Linked DNA regions of Homo sapiens: regions 1, 2, 4 and 5 are each linked to region 3. Evidence: promoter capture Hi-C in human tissues and cell types (Jung and others, 2019). All regions are on one chromosome and are shown on one strand. The core of a region is centred on a gene start or on the middle of the fragment in contact, and the rest is flanking DNA. Distances in the headings are between cores, read along the strand shown.

Region 1 (2,700 bases), core at 128-2,627, 200 kb before region 3:
TTGGTTGTTGTTGGGATCATCTTGGCTGTTCTTTTAGGCATACTGGGGATATTCTCCACTGTCATGCTCAGTGTTGCTTCATCACTGCCCACTGAGGCTTGGGGTACCAGCATCTTACCCCCCATTTCGGAGCTAGGTTTTGAAGGGCTGCTGCTCATCATCATCATCTCTTCACTGGAGAGGTCCCGACTGGCCAGTTTTATAGGCTGATGAGAAGAGACTGCTGCCCACAATGAGGAAAGGCCCCGGGGTCTCCTAAGGTGCTGATAAGTAGAACCGATGATCAACATTCCCAGTAAGAAGAGGAGGCGACTCCAATGAAGCCGCTTTGTCCGGAGTAACCACCTCTCTTGCGGCCCCATCCTGATCAATTTCCCCATGCTGGCCAGTTATATCTGGTTACAGAAGGCCTCTCATTCTGTCCTAAGATGGAGGCTACTCTGGGATTCAGGTTGGTGATCAGAGAAGATTTCTCCATGAAGCCCAGCCAGGGGGTATCCACAACCCTAGGTGGGTAAAAAAAAGAGATTATTTACCACTAAGAGGAGATCTGGGATCCATAACACCCTCATATAGAAAAAAGTGATAATAGAAGCCCCAGGAACACAAAAGTATCATGCATGGGGTCTTTGCAAGAGTAAACTACTCCTGCCCCCTGCTCCAGAGGAAAATGCCTACTCTTAAGAGAAAGAGTGCCTAGGGGTCCTCTGTACTATGTAGGCATGCCAGCCCCCCAGGTTCCTGAGCTGGAGCCTGAGTGCACTATGGAGTCCACCAAGTCCTCCCTGGGCTCTCAGCAAAAGATCTGCCAGTACTCTTCAGGTCCAAGCCTAAGATCCTGGGAGCTCAGTCATCCATAGCTGGTGTCAGGCCACAGGTCTCACCTTATCAAAGGCAGGAAGGAGGTAGGGAGATATGGCTTTAAGCTATAGACAAAAAGAGGCAGCAGTGGAGGGCATTGCCAGGGACATTAAGGCTCCATGTATTTTTTTGAACTGACTTAAAACAATTCCACCATCCAGAGTGGGCAAAGCTTAAAAGTTAATGTTATAGAGCTTCCCAGAGAATATGGCATGGTGGGAGGATCATGGGGAATGGAGTTGAAAGCCTAGACTCCCTGTTCTGCTGCTTACCAGCTGTGTCATCCTGGACAGGCTGAGCCTTGGTGCCTCATCTGTGAAATGGGCATGATAACATATATATTGTTTATGCAAAGATAATCTCTAGAAGGACATCTGGGGAAGGGAAACTGAGGATCAAAGGTCAGAAGGTGACTTATTTTCACTGTATATTCTGTTAGTTTGACCTTTTTATCATGTGCATGTTATAATATTTTTAATTTAAATTAAATTAGAATATGAATAATAACAGTGTCACAGGAATGTTGAGCGAGTAAAAACATATGAAAAGCATTGAACAGGCTGAGCACGGTGGCTCATGCTTGGAATCCCTGCACTTTGGGAGGCTGAGGTGGGCGGATCACTTGAGGTCAGGAGTTCAAAACCAGCCTGGCCAACATGGTGAAACCCCATCTCTACTAAAAATACAAAAGTTAGCCAGGCGTGGTGGTGCATGCCTGTAATCCCAGGTACACAGGAGGCTGAGACAGGAGAATTGCTTGAACCTGGCAGGCAGAGGTTGCAGTGAGTTGAGATCATACCATTGCACTCCAGCCTGAGCAACAGAGCAAGACTCTGTCTCAAAGAAAAAAAAAAAAGAAAAGCACTGAACAGAAAGGTTAGTTTTATACAAGAATGAAGGAGGGAAGAACATGAAAGGCCCTCAAAGAATCCTCATTTTATAAAGAAGGGCATTGAGGCCCAGCCCAAGTAACTATTTATTAAATCTCTAATTAATGTCCACAAACTACTACAAAACAATAACTGGAAATGATTAGTTTTGCATATGATATATTAGAAGTGAGCTGAGTAACCCATGGAATCTGTCTGGTACAACTCCTCATCTGAGATATGAAAACACAGAGGTCCAGAGAGGAGATGTGACTTGCTTAACATCACACAGCTAGTGAGTAGCCAAGCAGATGAGCCTCCTAACTCCCCTTTCTTTCTTGCATGCCACACTAATCAGAGATGCAAAGGTACTTGTCTTAAAAAGCAAGAGAGGGACAAGCAAAAGGAAAAGTAGGAATAAGTGAACTTCCTTCTTTGTCCCTGATTTCTATAATTTTCTTTCCACTATCTCCCTGCAGCCCCCCGATCCTTGCCATGAACTCAACACTTTGCAGCAAGCCCACTCGTATCCCCAGCAGAAATTTCAGAGGGTCTCTCTCTTTCTAATGTTCCTGTGTTATGTAACAGAGCTGAACTGGCACCCCAGCTGATCCCTCCTACCTAATTACATCATTTACCTTCAGACCTTGACATCTGGCTGTCTTCTCAGCTCTGGAAACTTGTCAGAATCCAATATCTCAAAGAGTGGGTCTGAAGCTGGACAGCAGGGAACACCCCATTCTCCTGCCCCCAGCTCTCCTATGGAATCCTAATTCAAGGCAGGGTCGGGTGTGAAGGGCAGCTCAGGGGAAGAATATCCGATCGTGGCTAATACCCACCTCCTCTAAGAAGCTTATCAGGGCATTGTACAAGTTCTGGGTCCCGGTACACCTGACCAAGCCTGAGAGAGTGGGCCTTCCACCAGGGACACAGAGGGGCTCACTGTGGGCCCACAAAGTCAATGGAGGAA
Region 2 (2,700 bases), core at 116-2,615, 140 kb before region 3:
GCTGGGGGCAGGGGTGTGTCTTGGGGACTGAGCCCTCCATCTGTGGGAACCTGATGCTATCTCTAGGTAAACAGTGTCAGAATTGAACCAGAGGGCACCCAGCTGGTGTCTGCTGCAGAACTCATTGCTTGCTTGGTATGTGGGGGAAAAAACCCACCCACTTGGTCACAGAAGTCTTCTGTGTTGATTGTTGTTGAGTAAGAAAATAGGAAAAAGCAGTTGAGTGTTGTAGTGTTGTATTTTTTCCATAACACCTGGCAAAAAAATGAGTGGCCATCTGAAGAGGCATTACAAAAAGGAAATAAAGATTTCCTCAGCTCCGGCTCAATTTTTTTTTTCTTTTTTTTTTGAGACAGAGTCTTGCTCTGTCACCCAGGCTGGAGTGCAGTGGCACAATCTCGGCTCACTGCACGCTCCACCTCCCAGGTTCAAGCAATTCTCCTGCCTCAGCCTCCCGAGTAGCTGAGATTACAGGCTTCCGCCACCACGCCCGGCTAATTTTTGTATTTTAGCAGAGACAGGGTTTCATCATGTTGGCCAGGGTGGTCTTAAACTCCTAACCTCAGGTGATCTGCCCACCTTGGCCTCCCAAAGTGCTGGGATTACAGGCATGAGCCACCGTGCCTGGCCCTCCAGTCATCTTAATATAATCCATAGTTTCTTCTTTTCTGGAATTTCTTTAAGGTCACTGAGGTCAAACTAGCTCAAAGAGACAGATACAGTAAATGAAAAAAACAACCCTGATATTTGGTTATATATTCACTCAACCAAGCATTAACTGAATACCTACAATGTGCAAGGTACTGTGAGAAGAACTACTGGGATACAAAGGTAGTTCAAGGCTGCCCTCAGAGCTTACAATCTAAAAACTGTAATACCAGGTGGGGAGTAACAAGTAATGTCTTGTGAAACTTTCAAGGTGAAAAAACGACATTAGGCTGGAGAAGTAGGCATCAAGCTAGTCTACATGGATAAAGCTGGTATCTAATCCGGGCTTTTTTTTTTTTTTTTTTGAGATAGGGTCTCACTCTGTTCCCAGGTTAGAATGCAGTGGTGGGACCATAGCTCTCTGCAGCCCTGACCTCCTGGAGTCAACCCATCCTCCCACCTCACCGCCCAAGTAGTTAGTTCTACAGGTCTGTGCCACCACACCTTGCTAATTTTATATTCCATTATGTTTTGTAGAAACACAGTCTTGCTACGTTGCCCAGTCTGATCTCGAACTCCTGGCCTAAAAGATCCTCCCGCCTCAGTCTCCCAAAGTGCTGGGATTAGAGGCATGAGCCATCATACTTGGCCTGATCTGGGCTTTGAAAGATGGGCAGACTGAGGACATAACCAAAGCAGGACAATTTCAAACCAACATGCAGGAAAATAAGGGACATTAATTTTATCTGCAGCCTAAGATTCATGAAGATACAGCCAATTACAGAGTAAAGGAAGAAACAAGAGGCTTTGACAGAGTCATTGTTGAGTCAAAGGAGTAGGGTAAAGAAAAGGACAGTTCTTAAGAGGAGATCTATGGTGTTCAGATTTTGCTGCTACATATTTATTCCTAGGCTACAGATATTCTGCAAAGACATCTGGTTGGTCCTCAAATAATCACATTTAATAATGTGGTCAATCAAAAGCAGCCTAAGCCAGGCACAGTGGCATATGCCTGTAATCCCAGCTACTTGGGAGGCTGAGGTAGAAGGATCACTTGAGCCCAGTATCTTAAGATCAGCCTGGACAGCATAGCAAGACCCCATCTCAAAAAAAAAAAAACAACACAGCCTTATCCTAAGACTCCAAAAAATGTCAGACTTCTAGCAACATTTAGCTAATTAAAAGTTATTTCTTCAAAACTACAAAAATCTATTACACTTCCCCACCATAAAGAACTTCCTTGTTCAGAAAACTTTATGAATTTAGGTAAAACAGTTAAAGCTTTACCTAACACCCAAAAAATCCATATATTAGAATTTTTATCTATTTTTGAAGTTTATCCCTTTAAGACACCAAAACATTAATTTAAATCTCAAAGTGGCTTTTTTATGTTGTTATTCTTTGCCTCCACTGAACCTCTCCCCTCCTCGGCTTTCCTGAAAGAATATTCCCCTAAGGTAGTCGCTATTCAAATATTTTTTAAAATTCCTTCTCAAAAGAAACCTTATTCGGAATGCCAACACATAACACTCAAAAGAGAGCTGCTCTGACTGAGGTAGACCTGTTTGTGTGATCTACTCCTCCAAAGCATCTCTGGGAACCCCCTGGGGCACCATGGAACACAGTTTGAAAACTACTGCTCCAAAACTTTCCCCTCCCTTATTTATGGCATGCTAGATAAGTACCACTAAAATTTGAAAAATTTCAACTTAGAACAAGTAAGAAGGACTTATTTCATTCTGCTTTTCAGAGGTAGTTTTACATACACCTGCAGTTCCCTCACTAAGAATGTAAGCCCTTTTGAGTATAGGCGCTACGATGGATCCCTCTGGCTCTTAGTCAAGGGCCCAGCACAATGCTTGCCACACAGCATGACTTTAACAGATAGCTGCTGAATTTAATCTAACTACATCACCCAGAAGATAATACACTTACAGAGCTTCCTGCTTAAAGTGGTTAGACGGAAACAGAAATTGATTTGTTAAAGGTTAATGAATAGCAGGACTACACAGAATACTCTCCATCTTTCAGGCTGACAACCACACTTATGTA
Region 3 (2,700 bases), core at 137-2,636:
TCAGGATGAGTTTGTCTACTAGACAGCTAAAGGAACTGGGGCCTGGATGGCTGGATACAGAAGTCCAGGGTTCAGGAAAGATGGTCTAGGCTGAAAGTATACATTTGGGCATCATTAGCATAAAGATGCTCTTTAAAGCCTTGAGGACCAGATGAGATCACTAAGGGAAGCAAGTGTTTCAAGGAAGAGGGAGTGATTCACTAAGTCAAATGCTGCTGATAGGGCAAGTGAAGATGGGGCGTGGCAATGAATGAATAAACGCCAGGCCTGTTAGATATGCAAAGCGCCAGTGATTATTGAGGGTTAACTGACAACAGACAGGTGTAGAGACAAGATGGCTCTAAGTCACAGGAACACTTAGAGACACAGGGAAGGGAAGAACTATGGCATCTTGGAGTTGGAAAGGACCTTAACTAGGTCATTGAATCTGTACTCTTTTCCCCACCCTAGCCTGACAATTGAACCCTTGGCTGTAGAACAAGAAATATTTGCGGGATACTGAGGCAAACAGTCTGGCTAGGTAGGTTAGAGAAAGTACCGTTGAAGAATGAGAAAAAGGGTACTTCAGTAAATGCTGGACAGCAGAGGCAGGGTGAGGGAGTGGAGATGACCTTCCGAAGTCAGAAAACCAAGGTTCAGGTCCTGTATCTGCTGCTCCCTAGCCTCCTGTCCTTGGGCAAGTCACTTCACCTTCTCCAGCCTCAGTTTCCCCATGCGGCGACATCTGAATATGGTAGTGCTTGAAGGTAGTGTAAAAGTGTCCTGCCTGTGTTAGTTACTGCCAGAGCAAGGGAAGGAGGCCAAGAGAAGCCCTTGGTTTGGGATGGCAGATAGGACTATCAAGATCTCCGCAGGTGGGCTGGCGCAACGTGTGGAGAAGCGAACCAGCATTCAGGCCAGGACCTGGGCTGGAATGGACTGGGCTCGGGTGGCAAGGGGGCCATCTGGACAAAGACCGTGGCCCTGAATCTGCCTCCCCTGAGCCTGGAACGGAGGTGGAGACCCCGAGGCAGCAACAGGGAGAAGAAATAGAGACGCTGAGGCAGAGAGACCAGAAGACTCAGAGACGGGGAGACTAAGAGACAGACCCAGCAACAGGCGGCCTCACGGGGGCCCGCGGCGACCCGGAGAGGGCGAGGCACCGGGACACAGACCCGGGCCGAGAGGAGCCCCCGCGAGGCGCAGGGCCGTGGCGCGCGGGCGCAGGGTCCCCGGCGGGGCCAGGGTGGCCACACTCGCCGGGCGCCCCCTCCCGGGCCGCTCGCCCAAGATGGCGATGGAGGGGCGGGTGAGGCGGCAGCGGCCCTGGCCCCCGCGCCGGCCCCAGCTCGGGCCCGGGCCCCCGAGGCCGCGCCCCCGCCCGCGGCGCCGCGCCTCCCCGGGCCACTGACGCCCGGCGCGCTCTCCCCCCGCGGCGGCGGCCGAAGCACGGGGAGGCGGCGGCGGCGGCGGCGGCCCGAGCCCAGCCCCATGGCGCGGGGGGACGCCGGCCGCGGCCGCGGGCTCCTCGCGTTGACCTTCTGCCTGTTGGCCGCGCGCGGTAAGGGCGGGCGCCCGGAGAGGCAGGAGCGACTGCGGAGTGCTGGTGCGCCCGCGCCCTGGTCTGCATCGGGCTGCGGGGCTGGCTCAAGCCGGAGTCCCGAGCAAGTGCGGGGGCTGCGCGTCCAGGTGCCCGCGATGCCTGCGCGGGGGTCTGCGAGCTGCGGCCGGGGGGCGTTTGTGGGGCGTGCTTGTCCGCAGTGGGTGTGTGCCTTTGGTTCGCAGAGTCTGGAGTCGTGTGTGTGTGTGTGTGTGTGTGTGTGTGTGTGTGTGTTGGGAGTGCTCCTGTCGTGTCCGCAGTGCGTGCCATGGTCGCGGCGTGGCATCGGCGGGGCGGGTAGCTGCGGTGTCGGTGGCTTTCGCGGGGCGGGCTCTGCCTTGCCTGCGCGTGTCTTGGGTTGAGAGTGTGTGTAAAAGAGGAGGGAACTGGGGTTGTGTCTGCACCTCCATTTGGGTCGGGTGCGTGTGCAATTGTGTTTATGGGGCTGAGCTAATATTTGGCCTTGGCATTTGGGAAGTGTCCTTGCCCATAGTGGGGGACAGAGCGATGGATCCCGTTTGACTGGGGGTGGTGGTGATAAAACAACACTCAACTTTGCCCAGTGGGTGTGGTCCCTGGGGCCGGTTAGAGAGGGGTAGAGGGAGGTGTTGCTCCCCAAAACCTGTGGCCAGCAGTGGACTGGGGGAGGGGGCAGGAAACCATTTGCTTTCGTGGACATGTCCAGCGCTTGTTCTCACGATGGGACGCGTGTCACCCCGGCCCCACCCCCCAGGGACCGACCAGGGAAGCGTGGACGAGGTCAGCAGGGCCTCATCCAGTCCGCAGCCCAGTGCGGAGTGGGTACGGGGTAAGTCAGAGTTGTCCAAGCTGGAGAAAGGGCTGGGGAGGGGATAGCGAAGTCCCCAAGGGTGTGTGTCTAGGGCTGCGGCTTCCACCCACAGCTCTGTCGCTTCCTGTCCGGTGTGCGTTTGGGGGCGGCTCATGGGGAGTGTAGGTGGCAGGGCTGGGAGGGGGATGGGCTGGCCGCTTTGTTCGCCTAGTTCTTGCCTTCCCCGCGGAGGGGGGAGCTGAGGATGTGTCCGGGGAGAGTCGGGGAGGGACTTGGAGGTGGGGGTGGGGAGGGGGATTTCTCTCCAGCTGCTGCGGCTTTCCAGAGAGAC
Region 4 (2,700 bases), core at 201-2,700, 180 kb before region 3:
GAAGTCAGACTGCATACTTACAAATCCAGGTTCTGCCACCTTAGTCATGAGACCTGGGAAAGTTATTTAATCTTTCTATACCTTAATTACTTCATTTAAAGATAGGGTTAATAATCTATACCTTATAGTTTTATTGTGATAGCTAAATGCATAAAAGTGCCTAGGATGGTGTTTAGAACATAGTTAATATTCAATAGATTTTGTTATTATTTTTGTGATGTGTTTAAAAGTTCCTTTTAATTTTTTCCTTCAAAGTCCACTTAACAAAAATGTAAACTTGGTGGACTGTTCACTCTTACCTGATAAGAGGATAGAATAAATGGAATTCTTTTAACTATCTTTAATAGTTGAAGAAGTCTGTTCTAGCATTTTTCTTTAAGAAGCTATGCTTTGGTGCTCTCAGATACATCAGTGTCCCCTGTGTAACATTCATACTTTGAACAATTTATGTTGTTTTCTAATACCTAATTAAAACTAAAGAGTAACTAGCAATTTTATCTTTTATTCAATAAGGAAGCACTAAGTAATATGGATGATTATGACAAAACCTGCTTGGAGTCTGCATTAGTTGGTGTTTGCAATATCGTTCAGCAAGAATGGGGTGGTGCAATTCCTTGCCAGGTAATGATCAATTCTTTTTCATTGCCCTAAGTTAACAACATTAACCACTGAGGTGCTTCGATTTTCTTCAGGCTCTGACACAGCATGCATTGTAATTTCTACAAACTACATTTTACACTATTGGTATCTTCTTAAGTGAAGGTACTAAATCAACACTAATGTGTTCAGAAAGCAGCAAAGTTATGCCTTAAGGAAAGCATCCTCCTAGTAAATTGACTTATTGCAAACTAGTACTGTTATATAAAACACAAAGGGCTCACAGTGGAATTTTTGAACTACAATCCCTGGAAGGGGTCATTATAATTTTGAGTGATAAAATTGTAAACATCAGTATAATATAGCCTGTCTTCATTATCTCAATGCAATTATTCAGCAGACTTTTTTTTTTTTTTTTTTTTGGAGACAGGGTCTCACTTTGTTGCCCAGGCTGGAGTGCAGTGGAGCTATTATGGCTCACTGTAGCTTCAACCACCGAGGCTCAGGTGATTCTCCCACTTCGTCCTCCTGAGTAGCTGAGACTACAGGCAAATGCCACCATACCTGGCTAATTTTTTACATTTTTTGTAGAGACCAGGTTTTGCCATATTGCCCAGGTTGGTCTCAAACTCCTGGCTCAGGCGATCCGCCCACCTCGTCTCCCAAAGTGTTGGGATTACAGGGGTGAGCCACTGTGCCCAGCTTTATTCAGCAAACTTAACCATCTCAACTGAGTTGTCTAAAAAGTGAGGAGTATAAAACATAAAATCTAGCCAGGCGCGGTGGCTCATGCCTATAATCCCAGCAGTTTGGGAGGCTGAGGTGGACGGATCACCAGGTCAAGAGATCGAGACCATCCTGGCCAACATGGTGAAACCCCCATCTCTACTAAAAATACAAAAATTAGCTGGGTGTGGTGGTGTGCACCTGTAGTCCCAGCTACTCTGGAGGCTGAGGCGGGAGAATCACTTGAACGTGGGAGGCAGAGGTTGCAGTCAGCCGAGATTGCGCCACTGCACTCCAGCCTAGCGACAGAGCGAGACTGTGTGGCAAAAACAAACAAACATAAAGTCTGTTGCTCTTTACTTAGACTCCACAGTAGGCCACATTAGTATCAAATCAGAGCAGAGTAGTAGCAGAAAAAGATAACTGGAAATTTGTTCTATACAGATACTTTTGAAAAGTAGTAGCATATTTTGAAGGAAAAAGCAGAAACATTGCTAAAAGAAAAATCATAATAGTCTACAACAGGAGTCCGCAAGTTTTTTTGTATTTTAGGCTTTGTAGGTGTCTGTGGCAACTACTCAGCTCTGCTGTTATAGCATGAAAGCAGCCATAGATAATAAGTAAATGAATGGGTAGGGCTGTGTTTAAATAAAACTTTATTTACAAAAACAGACAGTGGGCCAAATTTAGCCTGTGGGCCATGGTTGGCTGGACCCTGGTGTGTGACTTTTCATTATGGGGTCAAACAAAGGATTCCTCAGTAATGTCAGTAGCATCACTAGTATTTATTTATTAATAAAAAAAAAAAAAGATTGTAGCTAGGCATGGTGGCTCACACCTATAATCCTAGCACTTTGTGAGGCCAAGGTGGGAGGATAACTTGAGCCCAGGAGTTCAAGACCAGCCTGGACCACATAGTGAGGCCCTGTCTTAAAAAAAATAAGATTGTAGTTGCCTGGGAGTCAGGGAAAGGTATGAATTGACTCAAAAGAAGCAGGAGGGAATCTGGGACGTGTTGGGACTATTCTTTATCTTGTTTGTGGGGGTGGTTACACGACTGAATACAACTGTCAAAACTCATAGAACTGTATACTAAAAAGGGTGATTTTACTGCATGTAAGTTATATCTCAATAAACTCACCTTTAGAAAACAACAAAAACATTTTTTCTTGTGAAAACCTCCCTGTTTTATAGAATATAGTGGATACTTGCTGAAGAAATCAATAGATGCCTTTTGATCAATTTCTTTTCTGAAATAAAAAAGCTTTTTATGGCATCTCAGCTTATAGGCATTACTTATTTTGGTAAATCCATGCATATAGGATGTCTTATTTCCTAACATTATAGTGAATAAATGAAGTTTTGTTGTCAGTATCT
Region 5 (2,700 bases), core at 53-2,552, 230 kb after region 3:
GCGATCTTGGCTCACTGCAACCTCTGCCCCCGGGGTTCCAGCGATTCTCCTGCCTCAGCCTCCCGAGTAGCTGGGATTACAGGTGTGCACCTCCATGCCCAGCTAATTTTTGTATTTTTAGTAGAGACAGGGTTTCACCATGTTGGCCAGGCTGGTCTTGAACCCCTGACCTCAGGTGATCCACCCACCTCAGCCTCCCAAAGCGCTGGGATTACAGGTGTGAACTGCCGCCAGGCCTAGCCAGCATTCTTGAGTTGAACTCATGATACTTAATTCCTAAGAGTCTTGCCTCCAAAATCAAATGTGCTCCTTGCTAGCTGCATAACTTTCCCCTGGACCTCAATTTACTCACCTATAAATGAAGGATTTCTAAAGCCCTTTTCATGATTTTCAGTGAGGCTAATAGCACCATTCCCAGGATGCTTTCAGTTCATTAAACCACTGCTGATTTGTCGGTTGTTCCCCTGTGGAGACTGCACACTGGATGGACAAAATGCTCATCTCAGGAAAGCCCTAGCGTTTCAGTCTCAGCCTTCTGATCACCCAGTTACTGAGTGCGAATTCTGTGAAGGTCGGTACCATATGGCATGGAGGAGGGGAACAGGCAGGTAGATGGGCAGATCAGGTTGCTTCTGCTTACAAACAAGGGAGTTTTCAAACAATGTTCTCTCAAGTTCAAAGAGTTCTAGCAGCTGACGTGATAAGAGAAAAATGTCACCAAGATGTTGGGACAAGAACAGAGTCTGGAAGGATTGAGAGGACTTAAGCAAAATTAGAGGTAGATGGGGTTTCAGGTAAAGGTGTTGGCTAGAGCCAAAGAATAGAGGTGGGACTGTGCACTGGCAGTCTTTTGATTACAAGTAACAGGGGTGCCAGGTAACCTCAGGAAGGACTGGAACCAAGAATTGCAGAGCCATCAGAATCCAGGTAATCACTCTTTCTGGTTTCAATTAACTTGTCTTCTCTCATGCTCGGTGGCTTTGGTTCTCTCAATTTCTAATTCAATCTTGGGTTACATGCTCTGTTTTTCTTTTTCTTTTCTTTTCTTTTTTCTTTTTTTTTTTTTGAGACAGAGTCTCGCTTTGTTGTCCAGGCTGGAATGCAGTGGCGCCATCTCGGCTCACTGCAAGCTCCGCCTCCCGGGTCCACGCCATTCTCCTGCCTCAACCTCCCGAGTAGCTGGGACTACAGGCGCCCGCCACCACGCCCGGCTAACTTTTTTTGTGTGTATTTTTAGTAGAGGCAGAGTTTCACCGTGTTAGCCAGGATGGTCTCGATGTCCTGACCTCGTGATCCACCCGCCGCGGCCTCCCAAAGTGCTGGGATTACAGGCGTAAGCCACCGCGTCTGGCCTACAATGCTCTGTTTTTCAGACTGTCTCTCTGACTTTATTTCTATTTTTTTTTGTTTGTTTGTTTTTGTTTTTTGAGACGGAGCTGTGCTCTTGTTGCCCAGACTGGAGTGCAATGGCGCGATCTCGGCTCACTGCAACCTCCGCCCCCCGGGTTCAAGCAATTCTCCTGCCTCAGCCTCCTGAGTAGCCGAGATTAAAGGCGCCCGCCACCATGCCAGGCTATTTTTGTTTTGTTTTGTTTTGTTTTTTGTTTTTTGATACGGAGTCTCTCTCTGTTGCCCAGGCTGGAGTGCAGTCGTGCGATCTCGGCTCACTGCATCCTCCACCTCCCACGTTCAACCGATTCTCCTGCCTCACCCTCCCGAGTAGCTGGGATTACAGGCGGGTGCCACCACGCCTGGCTAATTTTTTGTATTTTTAGTAGAGACAGGGTTTCACCGTGTTAGCCAGAATGGTCTCTATCTCCTGACCTCGTGATCCGTCCGCCTCGGCCTCCCAAAGTGCTGGGATTACAGGCGTGAGCCACCGCACCCGGCCAATTTCTCTCTCTTCTTAGCCCCTGTCTCTGTTGCAGTCTCTCCCTCTCACTGTGTGGTCTTTCCTCTCTGCAGGAACCCTTGGTTCTGCTTGCAGATATGCTTTCTCTGTTCCTCTGGGCTCACAGAAGAAGGTGGCCACCCTATTTATATCTCAAGTCAATGAATAGCCCTGTCTTGAAGACCGAATTTGATTGGCCCAGTTTGAATTGGGGCTCCACCTCTAGTCCAATCAACCGTGGCCATGGCAGGGGTGGGAAATACAGGGCAATCCTGCTATCCAATCAAATTCCCTGGAGAGACAATCTGGTTGGCCCAGCTGCAGTTTGCCTCTAGTCCAGTCAACTGTGTCCATGGTGGGGGTGTGGCATATAAAGGGCAGTCCTAAGGCCTTGGGCGGTCGCTCTCACCTACAATTCCAGCACTTTGGGAGGCGGAGGCTAGCAGATCACCTGAGGTCAGGAGTTCAAGACCAGCCTGGCCAACATGGCTAAAAATACAAAAATTGGCCAGGCGCCTGTGGCTCACGCCTGTAATCCCAGCACTTTGGGGGGCCGAGGAGGGTGGATCACCAGGTCAGGAGATCGAGACCATCCTGGCTAACATGGTGAAACCCCGTCTCTATTAAAAATACAAAAAATTAGCCAGGCGTGGTGGCGGACGCCTGTAGTCCCAGCTACTCAGGAGGCTGAGACAGGAGAATGGCGTGAACCCAGGAGGCGGAGGTTGCAGTGAGGCAAGATTGTGCCACTGCACTCCAGCCTGGGCGACAGAGCAAGACTCCGTCTCAAAAAAAAAAAAAAAAAAAAG

The links. Contacts are between HindIII fragments. The study calls those that stand out against the background at their distance.
Region 1: a contact is called between a fragment that was not itself captured here and the fragment with the promoter of IGDCC4 in region 3, in 1 of the 25 tissues and cell types used here (spleen).
Region 2: a contact is called between a fragment that was not itself captured here and the fragment with the promoter of IGDCC4 in region 3, in 2 of the 25 tissues and cell types used here (heart right ventricle and mesenchymal stem cells).
Region 4: a fragment that was not itself captured here is called in contact with the fragment with the promoter of IGDCC4 in region 3 in 2 of the 25 tissues and cell types used here (adrenal gland and mesenchymal stem cells).
Region 5: a contact is called between a fragment that was not itself captured here and the fragment with the promoter of IGDCC4 in region 3, in 1 of the 25 tissues and cell types used here (mesenchymal stem cells).

Annotation. Positions count from the first base shown.
Region 1 is chr15:65,621,761-65,624,460 of GRCh38, reverse strand. It overlaps SLC24A1 (solute carrier family 24 member 1), which reads right to left and starts at 2,523. Exons shown (of 10, transcript NM_004727.3): 1 at 2,369-2,523; 2 at 1-506. The coding sequence starts at 380. LOC102723464 (a long non-coding RNA gene) reads left to right here and starts at 502. Exons shown (of 2, transcript XR_932375.3): 1 at 502-2,700. The HindIII fragment of the contact is 5,071 bases long and covers 1-2,700 here.
Region 2 is chr15:65,559,115-65,561,814 of GRCh38, reverse strand. All of the region lies in intron 5 of HACD3 (3-hydroxyacyl-CoA dehydratase 3), which reads right to left. Among named protein-coding and RNA genes, the nearest start is that of HACD3, 30 kb to the right of the region's middle. The HindIII fragment of the contact is 6,557 bases long and covers 1-2,700 here.
Region 3 is chr15:65,421,633-65,424,332 of GRCh38, reverse strand. IGDCC4 (immunoglobulin superfamily DCC subclass member 4) reads left to right here and starts at 1,386. Exons shown (of 20, transcript NM_020962.3): 1 at 1,386-1,540. The coding sequence starts at 1,471. RefSeq lists enhancers at 574-1,108, 2,084-2,353, 2,374-2,483. The HindIII fragment of the contact is 12,230 bases long and covers 1-2,700 here.
Region 4 is chr15:65,603,050-65,605,749 of GRCh38, reverse strand. INTS14 (integrator complex subunit 14) reads left to right here. Exons shown (of 12, transcript NM_001394796.1): 3 at 514-621. Among named protein-coding and RNA genes, the nearest start is that of INTS14, 6.7 kb to the left of the region's middle. The HindIII fragment of the contact is 4,583 bases long and covers 1-2,700 here.
Region 5 is chr15:65,191,680-65,194,379 of GRCh38, reverse strand. No RefSeq gene overlaps it. Among named protein-coding and RNA genes, the nearest start is that of CLPX, 7.7 kb to the right of the region's middle. RefSeq lists an enhancer at 2,015-2,309. The HindIII fragment of the contact is 3,805 bases long and covers 1-2,700 here.